Regions from separate parts of the Homo sapiens genome. Here regions 2 and 3 are each linked to region 1. Evidence: promoter capture Hi-C in 16 types of primary human blood cells and fetal thymus (Javierre and others, 2016). All regions are on one chromosome and are shown on one strand. Each heading gives the region's core, a stretch centred on a gene start or on the middle of the fragment in contact. The rest is flanking DNA. Distances are from core to core; before and after follow the strand shown.

What was found. The method cuts DNA at HindIII sites, captures the fragments that hold promoters and counts their contacts. A CHiCAGO score of 5 or more calls a contact.
Region 2: a contact is called between a fragment that was not itself captured here and the fragment with the promoter of N4BP1 in region 1, in 1 of 17 cell types (total CD4 T cells). The highest score is 5.9, in total CD4 T cells.
Region 3: the fragment with the promoter of NETO2 here is called in contact with the fragment with the promoter of N4BP1 in region 1 in 1 of 17 cell types (total B cells); the score reaches 6.1 in total B cells.

What each region holds. Positions count from the first base shown.
Region 1 is chr16:48,608,252-48,611,776 of GRCh38, reverse strand. N4BP1 (NEDD4 binding protein 1) reads left to right here and starts at 1,597. Exons shown (of 7, transcript NM_153029.4): 1 at 1,597-2,002. The coding sequence starts at 1,805. It overlaps LOC124903687 (a long non-coding RNA gene), which reads right to left and starts at 1,467. Exons shown (of 2, transcript XR_007065063.1): 1 at 1,259-1,467; 2 at 564-1,122. RefSeq lists enhancers at 55-134, 1,327-1,406, 1,417-1,466, 2,417-2,466 and a silencer at 1,507-2,106. The HindIII fragment of the contact is 6,560 bases long and covers 1-3,457 here.
Region 2 is chr16:46,805,208-46,808,732 of GRCh38, reverse strand. The region is part of intron 3 of C16orf87 (chromosome 16 open reading frame 87); the gene reads left to right. Among named protein-coding and RNA genes, the nearest start is that of C16orf87, 24 kb to the left of the region's middle. The HindIII fragment of the contact is 163 bases long and covers 1,815-1,977 here.
Region 3 is chr16:47,142,061-47,145,585 of GRCh38, reverse strand. NETO2 (neuropilin and tolloid like 2) reads left to right here and starts at 1,641. Exons shown (of 9, transcript NM_018092.5): 1 at 1,641-2,007. The coding sequence starts at 1,974. ITFG1-AS1 (ITFG1 antisense RNA 1) reads right to left here and starts at 1,518. Exons shown (of 4, transcript NR_110904.1): 1 at 1,092-1,518. RefSeq lists silencers at 1,111-1,440, 1,501-2,340, 2,511-2,660, 3,488-3,525. The HindIII fragment of the contact is 8,905 bases long and covers 1-3,525 here.

The DNA of each region.
Region 1 (3,525 bases), core at 348-2,847:
TTGGTGGGGCACTGGGAGACCACACCTGAGTTTCTGAGACATATGGAAACCCCCAGAAGCCTGGATCTCTCATAGGTTTTACCTTGGGTAAATCCTCCTACAGAGACCATTCCCCCTTGGTATTTCCAACTACAGCATCTTTAGCTCCTCCTCTTTTTCCTCTAGCAGGGATGTACACAGATGGCACAGACTCCTGGGCCCACAAGTTCACTGTGGTTGCATAATCCACACAAAGATTTTCCCTGAAAATTAGGCCTTAAATATATTGCTTAAGTTAGCAATAATAATGTTCAGTGAGCACTTACAGTGTTGGGTGCTGTATTAATATTCACAATAGGAAGTACTATTATTATCTACATTTTATAGATGAAAAATTAAAACAGAGAGAGGTAATATTCCCAGAGCCCCTATCTACTATAGCCACAATATTTAGCTGAAGGAAAGGAATCCAACACTTTATCTTCCACAATCTGTTTTCATGGACTCAGAGAATATAAAGGCCTGGAAAAGGCCTTAGAGATAACTGAGTGTACTCTTTTATTTTACAGATCAGAAAACAGACCTGGAGAGGGGTTAGGGTTTATTTGCTCCAGTCCCAGGGAAGATCATGAGTGAGCCCCCAAACTCCCACTTTTCGGGCTTCTCCCATAACATATCCCCTTTCTTCCCTCACAGAAGAAATCACTCTCCTGAATTTATCTTTTTTTTTTTTTTTGAGACGGAGTTTCGCTCTTCTTGCCCAGGCTGGAGTGCAATGGCGCAATCTCGGCTCACCGCACGCAACCTCTGCCTCCAGGGTTCAAGCGATTCTCCTGCCTCAGCCTCCCTAGTAGCTGGGATTACAGGCATGTGCCACCACGCCGCGCTAATTTTTTTTTTTTTTTTTTTTTTTTTTTTTTTTTTTTTTTTTTTTTTTAGCAGAGACGGGGGTTTCTCCATTTTGGTCAGGCTGGTCTCGAACTCCGGACCTCGAGTGATCCACCCGCCTCTGCCCCCACAGACTGCTGGGATTACAGGCGTGAGCCACCGCGCCCGGCCTTCTTGAATTTATCTTAATCATTTTTTTGATTTTCAATTCTCCGTAAGTATGCCCATTTTCTTCTCTTCTTGCTACCATTTTTACTGAAAGAAATAAAAAGGGAAAGAGAAAAAAGTGAGAAGGGCAGCTAAGAAGGTAAAAGGGTAGGGAGGAAGGGAAGAAACAGAGAAAGAAAAGTCCCGTCTGCCTGTGGATTAACGTGAAACTGAATAACTCAACTGCTAGAATCCTGGTTTGAGCGTCAAGATGTCTGAGGTCAAGTCCAATCCCTGTGACACTCTCAGTCTCGCCTCCTGGCAATTAAGTTTCCCCAACTATAAACCCATATATCTACATCCACCAGATCCCGCGAAAGCGGTTTCCCCTCATCAAAGAAGTCCGCCCAGGCCTCCAAAACCATCCCTTTATTCTCAACCAACATGGCGACTGAGGGTGACGTCAACTTCCGTCGCCTTCACCCTACTCCCTTCCCCTAGGGGGCGGCGAGCCTCAATGACGGCTGCGGCCGGGGCGCATGCGCGGCGGCGGGGCCCGGCCCGCGGCGGCGGCAAAGGGGCGGAGGGGTTCGCTGCCAGCAATTGCCAAGCTGCTGCGGTCGTGGCGGGATGGTATAGCCGGGCCTGAGGGCGGGCGGCGGGGCGCGGGCGGGGGCGAGGCGGCCGGGAAGGGCCGACGCCGCCTGACTGGCTTGGGAGCAGCGGCAGCAAGCTGAGGGGGCGTCGCCGCCGCCGGCCCCCGGCGCCGCCGCGGGAGGCCGCGCCCGCCATGGCGGCCCGGGCGGTGCTGGACGAGTTCACTGCGCCAGCTGAGAAGGCGGAGCTGCTGGAGCAGAGCCGCGGCCGTATCGAGGGCCTGTTTGGCGTGAGCCTAGCCGTGCTCGGCGCGCTAGGGGCTGAGGAGCCGCTGCCCGCGCGCATCTGGCTGCAGCTCTGCGGGGCGCAGGAGGCGGTGCACAGCGCCAAGGTGAGTCCGGCCGCCGCCCCCGCGCGCCCGCGGCCTCGATCGGTCCGGGTCTCCGGGCTCCCGCTCCTCCCCGCCCCCGCCGTCCGCCGCGATGCGCCTGGGTTGGGAACGCAGTCTCGGGAGCCAGCGAACGTGCCTTTTCGGCTCGCGAGCCATGTGACCTTGGATAGCGGCTTGATCCCCGGAGCCTCAGTTTCCCCATTTGTAAAGTGGCGCTGACGAAAGTACCTACCTCAGAGGGCTGTCGCGAGGATGAAAGTGGGGGATGTGTATGAAGCGCAGGCACAGCGTGTGGCACGGATCGGGTGCGCTGCGCATGTCGCCTGTTGTTGTCAGTTCCCCGGCCCCCAGGATGGTACGCAAGGCCTGTTGCTGGGCCCGCAGCCTCGTCCACCACCTAAGCCTTTATCCCCCAGTCCCGGGCCTCCACTACTGCAGTTCTGAGCCTTTTTGGGATCTCAGTTCCTCTTGAGAATCGGAAAAAAACTATTAATAGTAATAAAACGCTCGGAGAATGTCAGAAAGAAAGGATTTATGTTTACCTATTTTTTTCTATTTGAGACAGGGTCTCACTCTGTCACCCACAGTGGAGTGCAGTGTGGCGCGGTCTCAGTTCACTGCAGCCTCGACTTCCCGGGCTCAAGTGATCCTCCCACCTCAGCCTCCCGAGTAGCTAGTACTATAGGAGCGCGCCACCACGCCCGGCTCATTTTTTTTTTTTTTTTTGGTAGGGGATTTCACTATGTTGCCCGGGCAGGTCTCGAACTCTTGGACTCAAGTCATCCTCCCATCTCGGTCACCCAAAGTGCTGGGACTACACGCGGGAGCCACCCCGGCCGGATATTTAATATGTTAACAAAAAATAGCGTTATTCTTTGTATTGATATTACCTACAACTAACATTTACATAACGCTTAAGAACATCACAGGTTGCTTCAGAAGGAATGTGCAGCCCTTATGGCTTCTAATAAGGTAGATTTTATCCTCCCCACCACCACCCCGCCTTTTTTTTTTTTTTTAATTAACAGCTGGGGAAACTGAAACTCAAAGTGGTGACTCACCTTCTGCCTAAATCAGCATTTCAGACCTCTTCAGCACCTCTATCTACTTCCCCCCCTTTCCAAACCAAAAAGCAACACAGTATGTTGCTCCTCCTAGGTAACCAAGTTTCTCTAGGTTTTTCCATCTCCTAAGTAGGGCAGCAGGATTCAGACCTAGGGAGTTTGTTTCCAGAGCCTTCGTTCTTGATACTTGCCTCTCATATGATGAGCCCTGTCTGCGGGGTGGGCAGGAAGGGCCCTCTTTTTGCATCCTGCTTTGTCAAGTAATGTCAGTGTCCTTGAATCTGAGTAGTCGTATCTCCTGATGTTCTTAGATTTAACAAAAAATCGTGAGTGTTTGCATTTCACATCCTTAAAGGAGACGGGGCACTCAGCTGTGTAGTTCTTCAAAGCTTAACTTAAAACATTGTAGGCCGGGCGCGGTGGCTCACGCCTGTAATCCTAGCACTTTGGGAGGCCGAG
Region 2 (3,525 bases), core at 647-3,146, 1.8 Mb after region 1:
TTTAAAAACTTACAGAAAATTTCAACATATGCAAGAGTAGAGAAAATAGTATAATGAACCTCTCTATGTCCACAAATACCTTTTTAAAATTGAGACTTTCAAGCTGGTAGTTAATTTAAAAAAGGGATAGTTGCTCTTTATTGTTCTTTAAAAACCTCTGTCAAAATGATTTCATCTTCACTGAAATGCATTTTTAATTTCTTACACTATTTGTGAGTTATGCTTTGCTTTTCAGACGTTCTGTCTTAGATACTCAAGTGCTTTTTGTATAAATGTAAATTTCACTTATTTTAGACAATAAGACCATTCTACCAGTTTGCTATTTCTCTCTGCTTTATGTGCTTTTATTTGAATAAAGTTACTATTGCTAGAAAACAGCTTCACCAGTATAGCCATTCCTAGCTTTTATCAAAGTTAAAGGTGTCTTAGTATTGTATGGCTAAAGGAGTAAGGTTTATATCGGTTTTGACTGTATTCTAGGAAGGCTGTACTAAGGTACTCCATATTCCTTGGGTAATTTTACTGCTTTTCTCTTTCTATTATGCTCTTCCAGAGGGTTTGAGTTATTTGTTAAATTTGTATGTTTCTTTAACAATAGGGTGCAGAAAACCTATGCCGAGGACTCCTATTTTAGAAGGGAAACTAGGTAAAGAAAAGTCAGCAGAGAAAAAGGAAAAGAGAGAAATACTGCCTGGCTCAGAAAACAACATTCTTTTCAGTTGAAATAGAGGGAATGCAGCTGAAAGAAGAGAATGCTTCTGGTGGTGGGTGAGAGAAGATGAGAAAGCAGATAATGACCATCTTTAGCTGGGGAAATGAAGTCTATATACTTGTGGTAGAACTGTATATATGCAGGATTTCAGCTTTTATTTCATGATTACATGAAAAAAGAAGCATTTGTTTAGCTGTAAATATTTTTTAGGCATTTTCTGTTTATTACAGAAAAATTTTAAGAAAGCTATTTCTAGAGTAAGATATGCTTTTTTTTGTTTTTGATACAAATTGTAGGAAATTACTTAAATTAATTTTTGTAGCACAAACTGGAATCTTATGTAGACCATGAAGTCATTACACTTTTTCTGTAAAGAGCCAGATAGTAAATGTTCTAGGCTTTGTGGGCCATACTATCTCTGTCACAACTACTCAGCTCTGCCATTGTAGCTGGAAAGCAGCCATAAATCATGCATAAATGAATGGGCATGCCTGTGTTCCAGTAATACTTTATAAAGCAGGTGGTGGGCCACATTTGTTACTTGTACTATAGTTTGCCAATCTCTTTCTTTCTTTTCTTTCCTTGCTTTTTTTTTTTTCCTTCTGAGATAGCGTCTCACTCTGTTACCCAGGCTGGAGTGCAGTGGAGTGATCATGGCTTACTTCAGCCTCAAACTCCTGGGCTCAAGCGATCCTCCTGCCTCAGGTGCATGCCACCACACCAGGCTACTTTTTTTACTTTTAGTATAAATGAGGTCTCACTATGTTGCTCAGGCTGGTCTCAAACTCCTGGGCTCAAGGGATCCTTTCAGCTTGGCTTTCCAAAGTGCTGGGATTGCAGGCATGCATGAGCCACTGCACTCGGCCTAGTTTGCCAATCTTTGTTGTAAACCATTGTACTCTTAAATATAATGTGGACAAGAACTATTAGGTTGGTGCAGAAGTAATTGCGGTTTTACTTTTATACCAATCTAACATGAACTTTTGAAATGTCTGTGTTTTAGGATAGATTTCTTGGATATGCTTCTTAGTGCTAAATAGCTATTTAGTTGGTTTTTATTGATTCCTTGCTCTTAGAGCATTTGAAAATTTTGAAGCAAGCTTTAACTTTATTTTAACCATGAATTAAGGAAAACCTGACAATGTGTCTAAAAAACCTAACTTAAAAATGGACTTTTCTATCTAGTCAGATGAGAGATCCAAAGGGGGAAAAATGACTTTTCTATTTTGAAACAGAATAAGAAGGAAGAATGGAAAAGGAAAGCTTGTTAGACATCATCATAATAATATATCTTTATAAAGTCATAAAAACAAATCATTAAACAATTTTTGGTTAGTCTAATGTAAGTCTTCGTTTTATATATAAGGGTATTCTGGATATTATAATATAGAAGTGACATTTTGACTGATTAAAATATGTTAGGCAGTTCTGAACATCATATTAATGAACTTAAGAATGAATGGGTCAGGCGTGGTGGCTCACGCCTGTAATCCCAGCACTGTGGGAGGCCGAGGCTGGTGGATCATGAGGTCAAGAGATCAAGACCATCCTGGCCAACATGGTGAAACCCCGTCTCTACTAAAAATACAAAAAAAATTAGCCGGGCGTGGTGGTGCGTGCCTCTAGTCCCAGCTACTTGGGAGGCTGAGGCAGGAGAATCAGTTGAGCCCAGGAGGCGGAGGTTGCAGTGAGCTGAGATCGCGTCACTGTGCTCCAGCCTGGAGACAGAGCGAGACTCCGTCTCAAAAAAAAAAAAAAAAAAAAATGAATGTAGACTTCAAGCTGAAGATTGTGGATTGAAGAAACACATCTAGCTCTAAACTCCTTTGGGGAAATCTAAGAAAGAAACTGATTTTTATTACACAGTTACCTAAAAGTCAGGAATTTGTGTATCAGTTATGTCTGGAAGTAGAAGTGAAATTGAGGCTAAAAATGAGAGGATTGTTTGCAAGTCTTTTTATGAGTAGCCCACCAGGACTGTTTACCCTCTTATCCCCCAGGTTTATCCTTTGAAAAAGGTAAATAATACAGTCTTTGGTCTCAGGAACACCAGGTGTCTGTTGACGGCCAGGATACCATGTTAAGATCAGGAAGCCTAGGTGAAAATTGGACATAGTAAATGCTGAGTTCTTGAGTTTGGCTTATTAGCGTCCAGGTAAAAAAAGTAAAAAAGTTTGAACATATCTTCTCTAGAGAATCCGAAGGACCCAAGAGAAAAGGCCCCAAATAAAGATACTCTCATTAGAGATTCACAGAGAAGTGGCCTAATTGGATCATCCTAATCTGATGACTACAGTCAAGCTCCACGTATGTGTATGTTTCTAATCAGCTTCTTTGGTCACTCTCCTAAATATGAGCATATTGCCAAGAATTACCCAGATATCTGGAAGAAAGCATCTATTATAGTATGAAAGGCTAAGACCAAATCAACAGGAGAGAAAAAATAACTTGGAAAAAAGCAAGATTTTGCAGGGAAAAGAAAAACTATAAACTACTATTAATATCTTTAGCAAAAGAAGCAATTGTAATTGTAAAATGAACAAGGTGATATTTAAAAGGAAATTGCAGAGGTCAAAAAGCCAGTTGGAAAATGAACTTTAAAATATTCCAAAAAACCCCAAAACATAGATGATACACAGAAATGAACAACTTTAATAAAAGGCTTAAAGATAAAATTGAAGAAAGGTTCCAGAAACTATAACAATTGAAAAGAGATGGAAAAAACAGAATGGAAACCTTAAGAAATTTAGAGGACCAGTATGAGGTCTGACATCTGTAAATAATTAAAGTTTCAGATAAGGAACATGGAAGAT
Region 3 (3,525 bases), core at 392-2,891, 1.5 Mb after region 1:
TGCAGTTCAAGCGATTCTCCTGCCTCAGCCTCCCTAGTAGCTGGGACTACAGGCGCGTGCCACCACGCCCAGCTAATTTTTGTATTTTTAGTAGAGATGGGGTTTCACCATGTCGGCCAGGCTGGTCTTAAACCTCTGACCTCGGGTGACCCGCCTGCCTCAGCCTCCCAAAGTTCTGGGATTACATGCGTGAGCCACCTTTTCATATCCGTGGGAAAAAGTTCTTAAATGTTTTATTTCCTAATTGGTTCTCGTGTGCGATCTTAACTGTAGTAGGTGGTTACCTTTAGGAACCCAAACTTACCCATCTTTTATGCCCCCATTCACAGCACATGGCAAAGGGTGAAACACCTCGATATTAATTGGTGTTAAGTATGTTTTTCCTTTGTAAATCTCATGAATTATTTATGCTTTTGTACCTTTCTTGAAGGAATACAAAGTGAGAGAGAAGAGCTTAACACCTGAAAAATGTTTCAGTTGCCTGACATTGTCTTTAGCTACAATTGGTTAGACAAACGTTTACAGAGTTCCTACTACACGCAGAGACAGGCATAAATATTCTATTATGGTAAGGCCTTGATCACGGTTGTTATCTCCAGCACCAATCATTGTCTTCTGCACATAATTAACACCCAATACGTATGTGTGGAGTGAAAAAAATGAATGCAGTCGGCCTGCCTGCAAGCAGCTGATATTTTAATGGTGTGAGGGTGAGGGAGATATAAAGGATGAACAAATAAATAAATGAGGAAGGTCATATCAGTGTGATAACCGCTGTGGAGAAAATAAAGCAGGATCATGAATACCACCAACAGCCAGGCAGTTGTTGGCAGACCTGGAGACTCCCATCAGCTGGCGAAGCTGCCCAGCGTAGTGGTTAGCTGCTAGGAGGGCAGCCCCGGGGGAGGTGCACAGCCCTGCCGCTCATTCGCTACGCGGCTCTGGACGAAGGGCTTCACCTCTCTGGCCTCGACTTTCCAATCCCCTAAAACCTACTTCATGAGGGGGAGTCTGAGGAGTTGGTACTAAAGTGCCTGTCAACCTGGCGGGCGCTAGGGAAACGCCGGCAGCGCCGCGGGTCGGGAACTCACCGGCGCGAAGGGCACGGAGAGCCTCGGGCTCCCTCTGCCGATGTCCGCGCTTCCCTGCCCAGGGTCGAGCAAGGCTGAGCTGGGCAAAGTTTTGACCTTGAATGGAGGTCTGGGGGACTAGGGACCGGCGCCCCTCTCTGTCTGCTAGGGCTGGCGGAGACCCGGCAGGCCGGCGAGGGTGCGGGGCCGAGGTGGGCGGCGCTTCCCGGGCGCCTCCGTCAGACGGGAGGCATCGAGGGCTCGGCCAGCTGCCCCGGGCGCCCTGCGCGGCGGCTGGGCACGGGCCGGTCACTGCCCCGGCGCCGGCCTCTCGGACGAGGCCGCCGCGCAGCCACGGCGAGAGGCACCCTCACTACCCCCGCGCCCAGCCGGCTCCCAGCCCTAACGGCAGCCGGCGGGGAGCGACGCCGTCCCACGGCGCGAGGCCGCGGCGGGCGCGCGAGGCGCGGCGCGGGGCGGGGCGGGGCGGGCACATGCGCACAGGCGGCGCAGCCGGCACGCGGCGCTCGCGCTCCCTCCTTAAATGAGCCTGGGCGCCCCGCGCCCGCCACTTCAGTGGATCCCGCGCCGGGGCCGCGGGCGGAGCTGCCTGCCGGTCCCGCGCCGCGCGTCCGCACTCCTCGGCCCTCGGGCGGTCGATGGGACGGGGCGCCGCGGAGCAGGAGGCGGCGCCCGTCGGGGTGCTCGGGCCGCGCGGGAGCCCACTGTGGGGCTCGGGCATGGCGGGCCGCAGGACCTGAGCTCTCCTCAGGGGAGCGGGGAGGCAGCTGCTGGCCGGCGATGGGGACGGAGTGGGGCCGTCGCCGCCGCGCCGAGCCGTGAGCGCCGAGCCACCGCCGCCGCTACCTCAGCCCTTCGCGAAGCGCCGGGCAGCTCGGGAACATGGCCCTGGAGCGGCTCTGCTCGGTCCTCAAAGGTAAGGACCGGGGCTGGGGCCACGGACGGCGCCCCCTGCGGGCCGAGGCTGGCGCGCCGCCCTGCCCGCGCCTCTGCGTCCCTTACCCGCGCCCGGGACCCGACGCGCCTCTTTGTCTGGCGGGGCTCGCGGCTACTCGGAGCGGACCGCGGGGCGCGAGCCCTGCCCGGCTCCGCCGGCTCTCCGGGCGCGCCGCTTCCGACCCCTGCGAGTCCGGCCGACGTTCGCGGGGCGCGTGTGGGAAGAGGGATCGGGTCGGGAAGGCGGCCAGGAGGCCCCTGGGCCCAGCAGGGCCCTCCGGGCTGCGCCCTCGCGCCGCTTCCGTAGAATTCCGCGCATCCCTTTGCAAAGTTGTGAGATTCCTGTCGTGGAGCGGAGGCCGCTCTTTCTCCAGATGTGATGGCAAAAAGTAATTCCACGAGAACAATAAAAGCCGCGGCCGTGACGTCGTGCAGTGGTTTTCGAATAGCCCCGCGGCGCCTGCACCTCGCGGCGGGGAACGGGGCCTGCTGGGCCAGCCGGGTCCCACCTGCTGCGGCCACGGAGGCTGCGGCACCACTGCGGGCTCCGGGGGCGGCGCGCGGGCGCCGCGGACCCGGCTTGTCCCGGCCCCCGGGGAGCGCTGCTGCTCGGGTGCTTCCCGGGACGCGGCGCTCCTCGCGCTCCGCCAGAGGTCTCAGAATTCCCCGCCGCTGGTGTTCGGTTCTTACTAATTTGTTGTACTGGGAATTAAAACAGTTGGCTTGTCCAGAGCACAGAGCTCTAAAACCTACTCCACCGGCTTTGCATTTCCCAGGAGGTGGTAATTTAGATGAAAATTTATATACATAGATAATTAGGATTGGGATACAAAGTTGCTCCTGAAACTCGGACTGAATAAATCGTCTTTTCAATTTCCAGAGGGAAAACAGCACCACCACTCAGTAAAGGACTTCCCTTTTTCCCCCTGCTGATTTAAATTGAAAGCTGACGTGTTTGTAATGTCGTAACATGTTCTTTTTTTAAAAATTTCGAGGGTACGGCTGAGGCATTATTAACGGTGTTATGTATAACTCAGCACTGTATCTTAATATTTGTAGAGTGACTTTTTTCCTGCTCCCTAACAGCACTTTTTTCAAATTTGTTTTATTAGAAAGTTCAGTGTAATTTTGCTTTTGATTTTAATTGGACACATTGTCTACTCTCCACATATTCCTAAATTCGTAATTGAGATTTCAGTAATTCGAAACGTTTAACTACCCCACTGTAAACGTATCTACAGCTTGTACTAAGGTAACCTAGGACTTTCTAGCTGATGAATATTTCACAAACCGTAAATCCGTAGTGATTTCTTTATTACAATTGAAAACAACTCTGAAATTCATCCTGTGGCTTTCATATCTCTAACTCCTAATTTTTACAGTCATTCCTGGGAAAGGAATGTTTTTACTCTTTCGTGATAAACCGTATGCACACTAGGATTTCTGATCGTGTTGCTTATCTGAATTTTCTGCCGTTGTCGGATTGCGCCCTCACTAC